3 separate regions of the Homo sapiens genome follow, and regions 2 and 3 are each linked to region 1. Evidence: promoter capture Hi-C in human tissues and cell types (Jung and others, 2019). All regions are on one chromosome and are shown on one strand. The core of a region is centred on a gene start or on the middle of the fragment in contact, and the rest is flanking DNA. Distances in the headings are between cores, read along the strand shown.

The links. Contacts are between HindIII fragments. The study calls those that stand out against the background at their distance.
Region 2: a fragment that was not itself captured here is called in contact with the fragment with the promoter of UNC93B1 in region 1 in 1 of the 25 tissues and cell types used here (lymphoblastoid cells).
Region 3: the fragment with the promoter of C11orf24 here is called in contact with the fragment with the promoter of UNC93B1 in region 1 in 1 of the 25 tissues and cell types used here (small bowel).

Annotation. Positions count from the first base shown.
Region 1 is chr11:68,002,263-68,005,998 of GRCh38, reverse strand. UNC93B1 (unc-93B1 regulator of TLR signaling) reads left to right here and starts at 1,902. Exons shown (of 11, transcript NM_030930.4): 1 at 1,902-2,051; 2 at 2,201-2,342; 3 at 2,824-2,977. The coding sequence starts at 1,956. RefSeq lists enhancers at 859-1,401, 1,402-1,945, 2,850-2,899, 3,000-3,049, 3,150-3,349 and silencers at 1,780-2,079, 2,140-2,549. The HindIII fragment of the contact is 30,745 bases long and covers 1-3,736 here.
Region 2 is chr11:68,362,931-68,366,666 of GRCh38, reverse strand. LRP5 (LDL receptor related protein 5) reads right to left here. Exons shown (of 23, transcript NM_002335.4): 4 at 2,724-2,920; 5 at 965-1,096. Among named protein-coding and RNA genes, the nearest start is that of LRP5, 52 kb to the right of the region's middle. The HindIII fragment of the contact is 5,680 bases long and covers 1-3,736 here.
Region 3 is chr11:68,270,204-68,273,939 of GRCh38, reverse strand. It overlaps C11orf24 (chromosome 11 open reading frame 24), which reads left to right and starts at 1,967. Exons shown (of 4, transcript NM_022338.4): 1 at 1,967-2,083. It overlaps LOC105369363 (a long non-coding RNA gene), which reads right to left and starts at 1,838. Exons shown (of 3, transcript XR_950248.3): 1 at 1,764-1,838. RefSeq lists an enhancer at 1,004-1,858 and a silencer at 1,770-2,169. The HindIII fragment of the contact is 13,528 bases long and covers 1-3,736 here.

The sequences.
Region 1 (3,736 bases), core at 653-3,152:
CTGGGCTCAAGCAATTCTCCCACCTCAGCCTCCTGAGTAGCTGGGGCTACAGGTGTCCACCATCACACCAGGCTAGTTTTTGTATTTTTTGTAGAGATGGGTTGGGGGGGGGGGTTTGTCTCACTTTGTTGAGGCTGGTCTTGAACTCCTGAGCTCAAGTGATCCTCCTTGGCCAGCCAAAGTGCTGGGATTGCAGGCGTGAGCCACAGCGCCCGACCCTCTCCAGGTGTTTTGAGTAGGAGACATTGAGTGCAGGGAATTGGTGGTACAGCACAGGTGATGGAAGAGCCCAGGATGGGCAACCATAGCAACCGCCACAACCCCCAGGCCCAGAGGAACAAGGGGAGGAAGAGATTGCACCAGGCCCCAGAAGTTTGGGGTCCCTCAGGGAAATTGAGAAGCTCGGGGGGCCCACTCCCAGCACTTTGGGGGCTAAGGCGGGTACATCACTTGAGGTCAGGAGTTCGAGACCAGCCTGGGCCAATATGGTGAAACCCCATCTCTACTAAAAATACAAAAATCAGCTGGGTGTAGGGGCACACGCCTGTAATTCCAGCTACTCACAAGGCTGAGTCAGGAGAATTGCACTTTCTCATCATACTGTGTAATGATGCTGGTGTCTGCCATCTGAGAACGGCCCCCGCCATAGCCATACTCTCCCACCTCCTCCCTGCCCCTGCGCCTCGGGCCCTGCCCTCTCTTCGGCTCCTTTCCTGTCTCCCACTTCCAGCCACCCACCTGCATGAATCCACCTGTCTGTTCCCCACATCTGCACTTGGGCATCGTCACCTGGAGAAAGTTCTACCTCCTGGAAGCCTGAAGCCACTGCAGATTCACGCCTCCCCCCACCTTCCCAGCAATCCTTGCGGGGTGGGAGGTGTTTGTCATCCAGTCACTCATGCACCCATCCAGTCACAAGTATTGATCACTCAGTAGGTGCCCAATGCCATCCTCTGCATTTGGGAGAGGATGTACCTAAAGAGCAGTGGGTGGAGGGGGGTGCACAGGGAGGGCATGGAAAACCAGAAGGGAAGTGAAGGGACTGCATTCTCTGCAGGGATGGTCTCTTGTTCTGAGAGCTGAGTGGGAAGGAAGCCACCTGGGAGGCGCAGCAGGAAGAGCATTCAAACCAGAAGGAACCCAGGGGAGAGAATCTGGATATTTTCAAAAGTGGCCCCGTGGCTCCAGCCAGGTCGGTGGTAGCCAGTGCTTTGGAGTGTCGGCCCCACCACAGGCTCCCGCTGCAGCCCGGGATCCAGTGCCCAGCAGGATGGGGGCAGGTGGCTCTGGGCCCCACTACATGGTTGTGGCAGGGTCCCCCATGTAGTTCAGTGGGGATCACAATCTCCACCTCCCAGGACCCACTCAAGCTCCCATTTGCACAGCCCAAACTGGAGCAGGATGGGGACATGGGAGGTGGGCTCTGGCTGTAGCGTCCGGTGGTGGGAGGTGGGGTCCAGGTGGTGACGCTACTGTCCCTGCAGTGCTCTTTGATGAGCTGTAACAGCAGGCTTGGAGGTGGGGCTGGGGACGACCCAGGCAACCCTGAGGGGAGCTTAAGGGAGCCAGGCAACCCTGGCACTTTTCCAAGGCTTTGCATTAACTCAATAGTTCCGCCATGGCCCCGGGGGTAGTGCCATGTATTTCTGTTTTACCGTCGAGGAAACGGAGGAAACCGAGGCACAAAGAAATGGAGTTAATTCCTAAAGTCACAGGGCCAGGAGGTGGCTGAGTGGGGATTCGAACTCACACCCCAGAGGGCACACACAGGCAGGCCCCTGCACACACGCGCGCGCGCGCGCGCACACACACATACACACACACGTGTCCTGGAGGAGGCGGCCCGCAGGGCGGGACAGGGCGGGGCGGGGGCAGGTCCCGGCCGCCGGGAGGAAGTGGCCGGGCGGTCGCAGGGACTCCGGGGCGACCGCCGCGAGTCCGCAGTAGTTCGGGCCATGGAGGCGGAGCCGCCGCTCTACCCGATGGCGGGGGCTGCGGGGCCGCAGGGCGACGAGGACCTGCTCGGGGTCCCGGACGGGCCCGAGGCCCCGGTGAGCGGGGACCCGGAGTGCGAGGCGCGGGCGTCCCCTGTGGGCCAGGGTCCCCCCGGCGGGGGCGGGGCGGGCCGGGGGGCGGCGGGCACCGGGGGACACGGGTTCGGGGCGCGATCGCGGGTGCGAGCGGCGTGCGTGGCTCGCAGCTGGACGAGCTGGTGGGCGCGTACCCCAACTACAACGAGGAGGAGGAGGAGCGCCGCTACTACCGCCGCAAGCGCCTGGGCGTGCTCAAGAACGTGCTGGCTGCCAGCGCCGGGGGCATGCTCACCTACGGCGTCTACCTGGGTAGGTGCCGCTCGGGGACCCGGGGCCGCCCCGCCCGCTCCCAGCCCGGCCCGGGAAACAGAAACCGCGGGCCGCCGCCTCCCGCCCGCTCTCACTTCCCCTCCGCTGCCCTCGCAGCTGCAGCCACGGCCCCCCGCGGCGGGGGTGGGGTTGGGGGGTCAAGTAGCGCAGCGTCCCCGGGTCCCAGCCAGAGCCTCGGTGTGGGTGGGGGACGGGGGTCCGGGCTCCCGGACAGACCTGCCACCGTCAGAATTGGAGGCCGGCGGAGCAAGGCGGGTGGGGGTCTGGGCTTAGCTGGCCAAGTGGCCGCGGGCTGGCAGAAGGCGTGGCGCAGCCCGGGAACCCCGCTGTCCTGAGGGGCGCTGTCAGCGGGAATGCCTTCGGTGATTGGAGCTCCCTGCGAGGCCTGCATGCCGTCTTCTGCTCGGTGGCGCCCAAAGCTAGGCTGCTCCCTGCACGCCGCTCTCTGTCCTGTCCCCAGGCCTCCTGCAGATGCAGCTGATCCTGCACTACGACGAGACCTACCGCGAGGTGAAGTATGGCAACATGGGGCTGCCCGACATCGACAGCAAAATGCTGATGGGCATCAACGTGACTCCCATCGCCGCCCTGCTCTACACACCTGTGCTCATCAGGTGGGCGCGGCTGCTCCTGTGGGATGCTGCGGTACTCCCATTTCGGAGGGGTACAGAGGCCGGCGGGCCAGGAGGTGTCCATCTGCCGGGGTGTTTGTGGGGCGAGGGAACAAGGGAGAGGTTTTTTTCTACCCGGAAGCCTGAGAGTGAAGGGGGTGAAACTCGGATTTGGGGAAGGAAACAGGAACTTTGCCTCAGGGCACATTTGGTTTCCAGCAACAGATTCACACGGGCTGAGCTCCCTCCCAGCTTGCCTGGGCCTCACGTGGCACCCTCCTCGTGGCCTCCTTGGAGGCCTCCCAGAGCCACTGTGGCCTTCAGGGTTGGGGCTGTAGAGTTAGGGGTTTCTGATCGGTCAGCAAAGTCCAGGCACCCATGCCTGGCCCAGTCGCTGTGACTGGTGCTGAGGGGGTGTTTCTCACAGACAGGCATGGCTGGGCAGGTGCCCCAGAGCTCTCCCCCAGATCTGAGCCCTGGAGGTATGTGGTTCAGCCTCCCCATCACCGGTCCACAGTGCCCTCCCTGATGGGACCTGGAGACCAGTGGACAAATTAGGTGAATTTGAGCTCCCTCATCTTTAAAACAAACAAACAAACAAAACAACAAGAGAAAACTCCATTTAAACAAAAATTTGAAAATTTAAAACATCTCCCGTTGCACAGGCAGGATTAGAATAACTGAAATCATAAAAAAGAAACCCCATCTAAGCCCTCCAGGAAATCGGCTACCCATGCTGTCCCACCAGCATGCATGGATTAC
Region 2 (3,736 bases), core at 840-3,339, 360 kb before region 1:
AAAGATGCCCTGCTCTCAGAAAGAGAAAGACAAATACAAACCTGGAAAATCCTCACCAAACGCAGGACCCCTGCCAGGGAGCAGAGAAAAGACCCACACGCCACGGGCGCCACGACCACACACACACCCCAGCCGCTGCACACAAACACAGACCCTAGCCAGCAAGAACAGGGGGACCAGGAAACTGTTCCTAAAGTCAGGACCCCCATGTGCTCAGACAGCAGTGAGAGCAAGGACACTTCTCCATCCACCGGATGCCAGGAGAGTCCTTCTAGGGGGCCCCACACCGAGACTCTGCCCTTAGGACTGTTCCTGAGTGTGGAAGCCAGCCCACTTGGAAGCCCCCTGCCCTCCCGAGTGGGACACCGGCACAGGAAGCAGGCCCTGTCCCCCACCACCTTCTGCAAGCTGGGCCCCATCACGCTACAGAAACGGGGAGGACTGGTCCCAGGGATGGCGCTTTCCTGACACCTCTCGTTACCCCCTCGCTTGCCAGGCCCCAGGGTCAGCCCCAGAGGCCAGACTGGCTATCCCAGGCCCGGGAGCATCCCCGAAGGCGAGCTGCATCCTGAACGTGTGTGATTTCCCGAAGGGCCCGCCCCGAACCGACACCTGGAAAGAAAGATCCTCAGCCGGTGCCCCAGAGGAGAAGAGCCATGCCTCACTGCAACACAGTCCCAGGAAGCACCAAGTGCCTGAGGACCAAGGCGGAGAGTAAAAAAGTGGAAAATATCTGGGGCAAAAATAAAACAAAACAAAACAGGATTGACCTCCTGGGCTCAAGCAATCCTCCCAACTCAGCTTCCCGAGTAGCTGGGACCACAGACTTGAATCACCACACCCGCCAAGTGGATCATTTCGAACGGGTTTGCCGAGGTTCCTTCTGGGGCACCCCCGGCGGCCGCAACCCATTCCCGCCAGGCCCCGCCCCGCCCGCCCGCCCCGTCCCGTCCCACCGCCTCACCTGCCTTACACGTCCTGCCGTTGTCCTGCAGCTGCACACCCGTGGGGCAGGCGCATGTGTAGAAAGGCTCGCTTGGGGACAGCAGGCACAGGTGGGAGCAGCCGCCATTGTCCTCCTCACAGCGAGTGTGGACTGAGAAAACCAGGACAGAGTGAGAGAAGGTTCCAGAAGAGGACCGTCACTTGTTTCTGAATGAGTCACATCCTGCCTCGTCCCCCGTGACAGCCTCCAGTGTGTCCCTCTGCCCAAACATCGGCCTCAAGTGGCATCAGGGACCTCCCCGCTGGCACCATTCCACCTGCCTCATCGCTGGCCCGTCCACATGGGGCCCTCAGCCTGGCCAGACGGCCTGCAATTTCCCCAAAACCAGCCGTGACCTTCCTGGCCACCCTCACACCCAGATGTGACCTGCCCATGGAGTGACATCTCCCCATCTGCTTCCTCCCACCAAGCTCCTATGACTAGAACACCCTCCCCAGCTCCTCGGAGCCCCCAAAGGACACCCCTCTGCAAAGGCTGCCCCCCACGCTCCAATGGCCGGGGTCAGGACCTGCCTGTGTGGTAGTGACGGGAACCCCAGAGACAATGGGCTCCTGGGCAAAAGGCTTGTCTTGTCTTTGTGCTATGTGTGGACCCAGCAGCTTCCATAGGAACACTGTCCCTCTTGCTGGGATGGCCAAGCTTGTCACTCTCCCAAGCCCTTCTATGACCAACAGCAATTGAACGGAACTCGATAAATGCTTCCAGCACCTCATTCAAACCAGGGGAAAGCTGGGTGTAGCAGCCCCAAAATACGGATATAACTGGAACAACAAACTCATCAAAATGAACCTCTCCCTCCCTCATGCTGCCCCAAGTGTAGATGGGTTTTGTGACCACGACTTTCTCACCAGGAAACAGCTCCAGAGAGCCCCACCCTCCTGTGTCCTGCTCTGGGAACAGCTGGCACCCCTAGGCCCCACATTTCAATTCAAAGTCCAAACCTTCCATAATGGCCTGGCCAGAAATCTCCATCCCTGGTCCCTGTGGGAGTGGGCCACTGTCCCCAGAGCCGCAGCCCCACTGTCACAGAAGCTGGTGCATTTCCCCATCAGGGACCTCTGTCACAACCCAGCGTGGCCCCCAGGCTGAGAACTGCTGATTCTGGGCAGATTATTCATTGATAAATACGCGACTTGCAGGGCCAAGCATGGTGGCTCATACCTGTGACCCCAGCACTTTGGGAAGTCAAGGTGTGAGGATCACTGGAGCCCAGGAGTTTGAGACAAGCCTGGGCAACGTGGCAAAATCTCTCATCTCTATTAAAAATACATACACACACACACACACACACACACACACACATATATATGTATATATAAATAACCATATATATATATACACACATACGTGTATGTGTATATAAATACATATACACACACACACAGACAACTTCTTCTGGGCCTTGAAAACGAGGCAACCTTCCTTGGAAATCCCCTTGCCACTGCTGAGCCTGAAATAGCCCCCATGAGCTCTGCAGAGGGGTCCTCTGCAGGCCCGTGTCCCCCAGCCAGCCACACACCTCCCTCCATTGCAGCAGGTACCCCTTTAGAGAGGGGGCCCCCCAGAGCATGGGCTTCTGCAGGGAGGGGTCACCTGCCCCCCCACCCCACCCACGCCCGCGCACCCCCACGCCCCCGCATCCTCCCACTCCCCTGCCCCGCGCCCCCGCTCCCCCCAGCCCCCGCACCCTCGCCCCCGCGCCCCAGCCGGCACTCACAGAAAGGCTGCCGCTCCTGGCTCAGCACCTGGATGTCCATGGGTGAGTAGAGGGCACTCAGGATCTCCTTCCTCTTCCCCCCAGTGCGCTTGTTGCAGGCATGGATGGAGCGGGTCTGCCAGTCTGTCCAGTACAGAGTGTCCCCGGAGAGCGTCAGGGCGAAGGGGTGCGTCAGGCTGCCCTCCACCACCTTCTGCCTGCAGTCAGGGAAGCGGGGTGGAGGAGCCATCAGGAGGGTCCCCCGACAGTCATTGCTGCTGACCCAATTAATTTCTTTTTTTTTTTTTGAGATGGAGTCTCGGTCTGTCGCCCAGGCTGGAGTGCAGTGATGTAATCTCAGCTCACTGCAACCTCCGCCTCCCGGGTTCAAGCAATTATCCTGCCTCAGCCTCCCGAGTAGCTGGGATCACTGATGCCCACCACTACGCCCAGATGATTTTTGTATTTTTAGTAGAGACAGGGTTTCATCATGTTGGCAAGGCTGGTCTCGAACTCCTGACCTCAGGTGATCCACCCACCTCAGCCTCTCAAAGCGCTGGGATTACAGGCGTGCGCCACCATGCCAGGCTTCCCATTTGCTTTCAACCAGACAAGTGAGGCCAGGTCAAGAGCCCCAGGAGCTGGCGCCCTCGTACATTTCTCCCGGCGTGCACAGGGCACCTCCCAAACACAGCCTGTGATGGTGACACACGGGCTCCCCCAGGTCAAGTGGCAAAGTCTCCCCCAGGGAAGAAAGGAGGAAGCCATGCCTGGCAAAAAGCACACCTCTCCTGCCCAACGCTTTAACCTCTGTATACAAATCAGGCCATGTGCACTCGCTCCTTCTTACAATGCTCATAATTTATACTTTCAGAGTAAATGAAACTTGGCATCAACCCGAGAAACAGCTATTCTTTTCTAGATGCTTACAGTGCCCAGCAAATGAGGACTCGGGTGTAATGAGATTATGGACACTGGAAACAGGATCATAATGTGACGTGGTCGGTAATGTGCAGTTTTATTTGCTTAATGAC
Region 3 (3,736 bases), core at 718-3,217, 270 kb before region 1:
TCTAAAAAAAAAAAAAAAAAGCAAGCAGATGGAGGTCTAGCTGCCCAGCTGCTCTAGAGGAGAGGCTGTGTCTTATGTTTGTAATTTCAGCCCCAGCAGTAAAAATTGTCCCTATGTTGCCAAAGAGGAAATGAAAACAGAGTCACAGTCATTGATTTTTTTTTTTTTTTTTTTTTTTTTTTTTAGAAGGAGTCTCGCTCTGTCGCCCAGGCTGGAGTGCAGTGGTGAGATCTCGGCTCACTGAAGCCTCCCCCTCCCAAGTTCAAGCAATTTTCCTGTCTCAGACTCCCGAGTAGCTGGGAATACAGGCACACGCCACCACGCCTGGCTAATTTTTATATTTTTAGTAGAGACGGGTTTCACCATATCGGTCAGGCTGGTCTCAAACTCCTGACCTCAGGTGATCCGCCCGCCTTGGCCTCCCAAAATGTTGGGATTACAGGCGTGAGCCACCGCGCCCAGCCCAGTCATTGATTTTTGAAAAGGGCAGGCAAAGAACTAAAATCTGCCTGCCGATTGTATATTTTCACTTCTGGAGTGAGCCTCAATACTGTACTTCATGTTAGATCCGAACTAGTTGGAAAAATTAAAGCAAATACATAGTGAAAGGATCTGATCTTCACATGATCCAACCGGCGTTGGGTCTCAGCAAACCCAACTTTGCAGGTTAAATTCCACACATGAACTGTGGTTGAACTGGGGATGGTGGTGGTGACATCAAATCGCATTTCAGGTGCTCCCAGAGCTCGGAGTGGATGGTAGATCCTGTCTTTGCCCAATCTCAGCTTTCTGTGTCTCTTAGCTTCCTAGCCGAAGACCCCAAGGCAGGTTATAAAACTGGAAATAAAGTCTTGGTTTGCTCCTGTGAAATCATCCTTCGCAGACAGGTTTTGGTTTGGACCGGGGGATGCCTGAGGGTCTTATACAGACTGGGATTCAGTCACAGAACTACTAACTTGCAAAGCCTATTTCTTTCTTTCTTTTTTTTTTTTGGAGACAGAGTCTCGCTCTGTCGCCCAGGCTGGAGTGCAGTGGCACGATCTCTGCTCACTTCAACCTCCACCTCCCAGGTTCAAGCAATTCTCCTGCCTCAGCCTCCCGAGTAGCTGGGACTACAGGCGCACGCCACCACGCCCGGCTAATTTTTTGTATTTTAGTAGACACAGGGTTTCACCATGTTGCCCAGGCTGGTCTCGAACTCCTGAGCTCAGATAATCCGCCCGTCTCGGCCTCCCAAAGTGCTAGGATTACAGGCAAGAGCCACCGCGCCTGGCCTGCAAAGCCTATTTCTAACCAAAGTCAAGTCCCACACACTTGCCTCTAAATTGCGTTTTGCTCCTTTGTTATCCCAGGTTTTACAATTACAGAGCACTTGATGAGCCTGTTTCCACGTCTGTAAAATGAGGCGAAGTTCTTCACTGTGCTATTGCAGAATTAAGCCACTGGCTCTATAGGCAAAGTGCTTAGCACGGGCGTGGCACGCTGCGGGTGCACAGAAACGCTCGCTGCCACCCCACCCTTAACTACCGGGCACCCCAGCGCCCCGCCAGGGGCTGAAGAAACGTGGGAGGAAGCGGAGGAACGCGAAGGGCGTGTGCCCGCGAAAGGTCTCACGAGGCGTTTCGAGGTCGCCTCTTCAGGCTCGGCTGCCGACAAGGTGCCTCTGAGCTCACCCAGCCCAACCCGCGCACCCCGGGACCCCAAGACGGCAGCGGGCACAGCTGGGCAGCAGAGACCCGGGAACACCCACTTCCGCCACAGACCTGCTCAAAATAGCTCCTTCTGGCAGCGCGCAAGAAGTGGCCCGAGCCGGCCCCGGGGAGGCGGGGCCTGAGAGCAGACAACCCCCCCACTTCCGGCTCGCCTCCGTTCGCCACAGGCCCCGCCGCAGCCGCTCTTCGCCCCGGCCAGCAGGCCCGCCCCGCCCTCCGTGACGTCATTTCCGGCGTTTGGGCGGGGCCCGGGCAGGGCGCGCTGCCCGGAGCTGCCTGGGTTGCGCTGCCGGCCACGTCCCCGCGCCGGGCCTCAGGCTCCTTCCTACTGTCCGAGGGCCACCAGGCCGCCGGGGGCCTGCTGCGCCCGGGTAAGGGGCTCGCACTGCCGTCCGGGTAGCTGCTGTCAGGGCTCCCTGACTGGCTTGGGACTGAGAGACAGAGGTTGGGGGGCAGGAGGAGGGTTGGATGGGGGCACGAGGGGCAGTGGGAGAGTGAGTGGGGCTGAGAGAGGCAGGAGGAACGGGACAGGAGGAGCGGCGGATGGGGCACGCACAGAGTGCAAGACGCTGAGCAATGCAGGTACTGAAGAAGTCAACTGGGGGCCGAGCATGGCTGGGGGCCCAAGAGACAGGAGGAGGGAGGAGGGCCGAAGGGGGCCCAGACTGGAGAAGAGGCCGGCTTGTCCCATTGTGGGAGCAGAATGGGGACACTCTGGAAGGGGGCCGAATTTGTCCTGGGGTCTTTCCCGGGCAAGCCCAGGACGGGACTGGACCCCAAGAAGTGTCGCTCTTACTTGAGTGACACAGACCTATCCCCCAGACCCTCTCTCTACCTGGGTGGAGGTTGTGCATTGCCCCAGATTCCCTCCCCTGCCCATCTGTCTCCCTGCCTGCTTCCCCCGTGCGAGTCACTTAGTAGCCCCCGTGTGGCTGCTTAGCATGTTGACTTAATCGTTAGGCTGATAGGAGGAATCGGCCTCCACACGCATGGTTTGCCACCAGAAATAATCATCGTGCTTAGAAATCTGACTGTAATAACTTGCAGCTATCCCTCGCCCCAGGAAAATCTCTAACATTTCGATAAAATCAGCTAGGAAAATCTTTAAAATACAGATGTTTCCATTTATACAGTGGATCTGCCTAATGGACAAAGGAATGTCAGAGCTACCCACGTTCTTAGCAAAAACTAGGCCCTAGTATTTAGCTGTGTTACCAAAACTTCCAGAAACCTGGAAGCAAGCAAGGTAGTTAATGTAATATAATAAATGTCCAATGTTCTAGGTTCCCGTCTGCCACAGAGTCACATCCTTTGGACTACAGGACAATGTCTATATACACAAAGCCATAAGTCTGTGTTCCTTGGGCTTCTGCTACCAAAGTTCAGCCAGGTGACGTGTCAGGATTAGGTACCTGCAGTTTGCCCTGTATTTGTGTTTGCAGTTCCTACTCCTTGGTATCTGTAGCTTGCCTAACTTGGTGTGGGGGCCTGGCCATGTTGCGGCTGAGTGAGTCTTAATAGCCTGATAGAATGTGGGGGTAACAGCTGTAGTCCTTTACCAAGCTTCAGGATTGGTCTTTGGAACCTCTCTATGCCAGAAAAAAAGAATTAAGTTATTTCTTTCCCTTTTTTTTTTTTTTTAAGAGATGGGGTCTCACTATGTTGCCCAGGCTGAACTCAAACTTCTGGGCTTGTAATCCTCCCACCTCAGCCTCCTGAGTGTCTGGGATTACAGGCATGCAGCACCACGCCTGGAGTCCAGTTTTGTGTAACTTGCATAAAGTGCGCCACATATAACAAGCCAAGGTTCGGAACACAAGAATTCAGACAAGATGCCTTGGGAGGCATCTCGAGGTCATGAACCAGAAAAGGATAGGGAGGTTGACACCCAGGGGCATAGTTGGGGGTGCCTTTGTCATGGAGTGTCACATGGCTCAAGGGAGTATCCTGTTGCACCTTCCTTGCAGATCCTATGGGGAGCTGACCCCTGAAGAAGGGAGCTCCCAGTGCCAGCCTAACCTTCC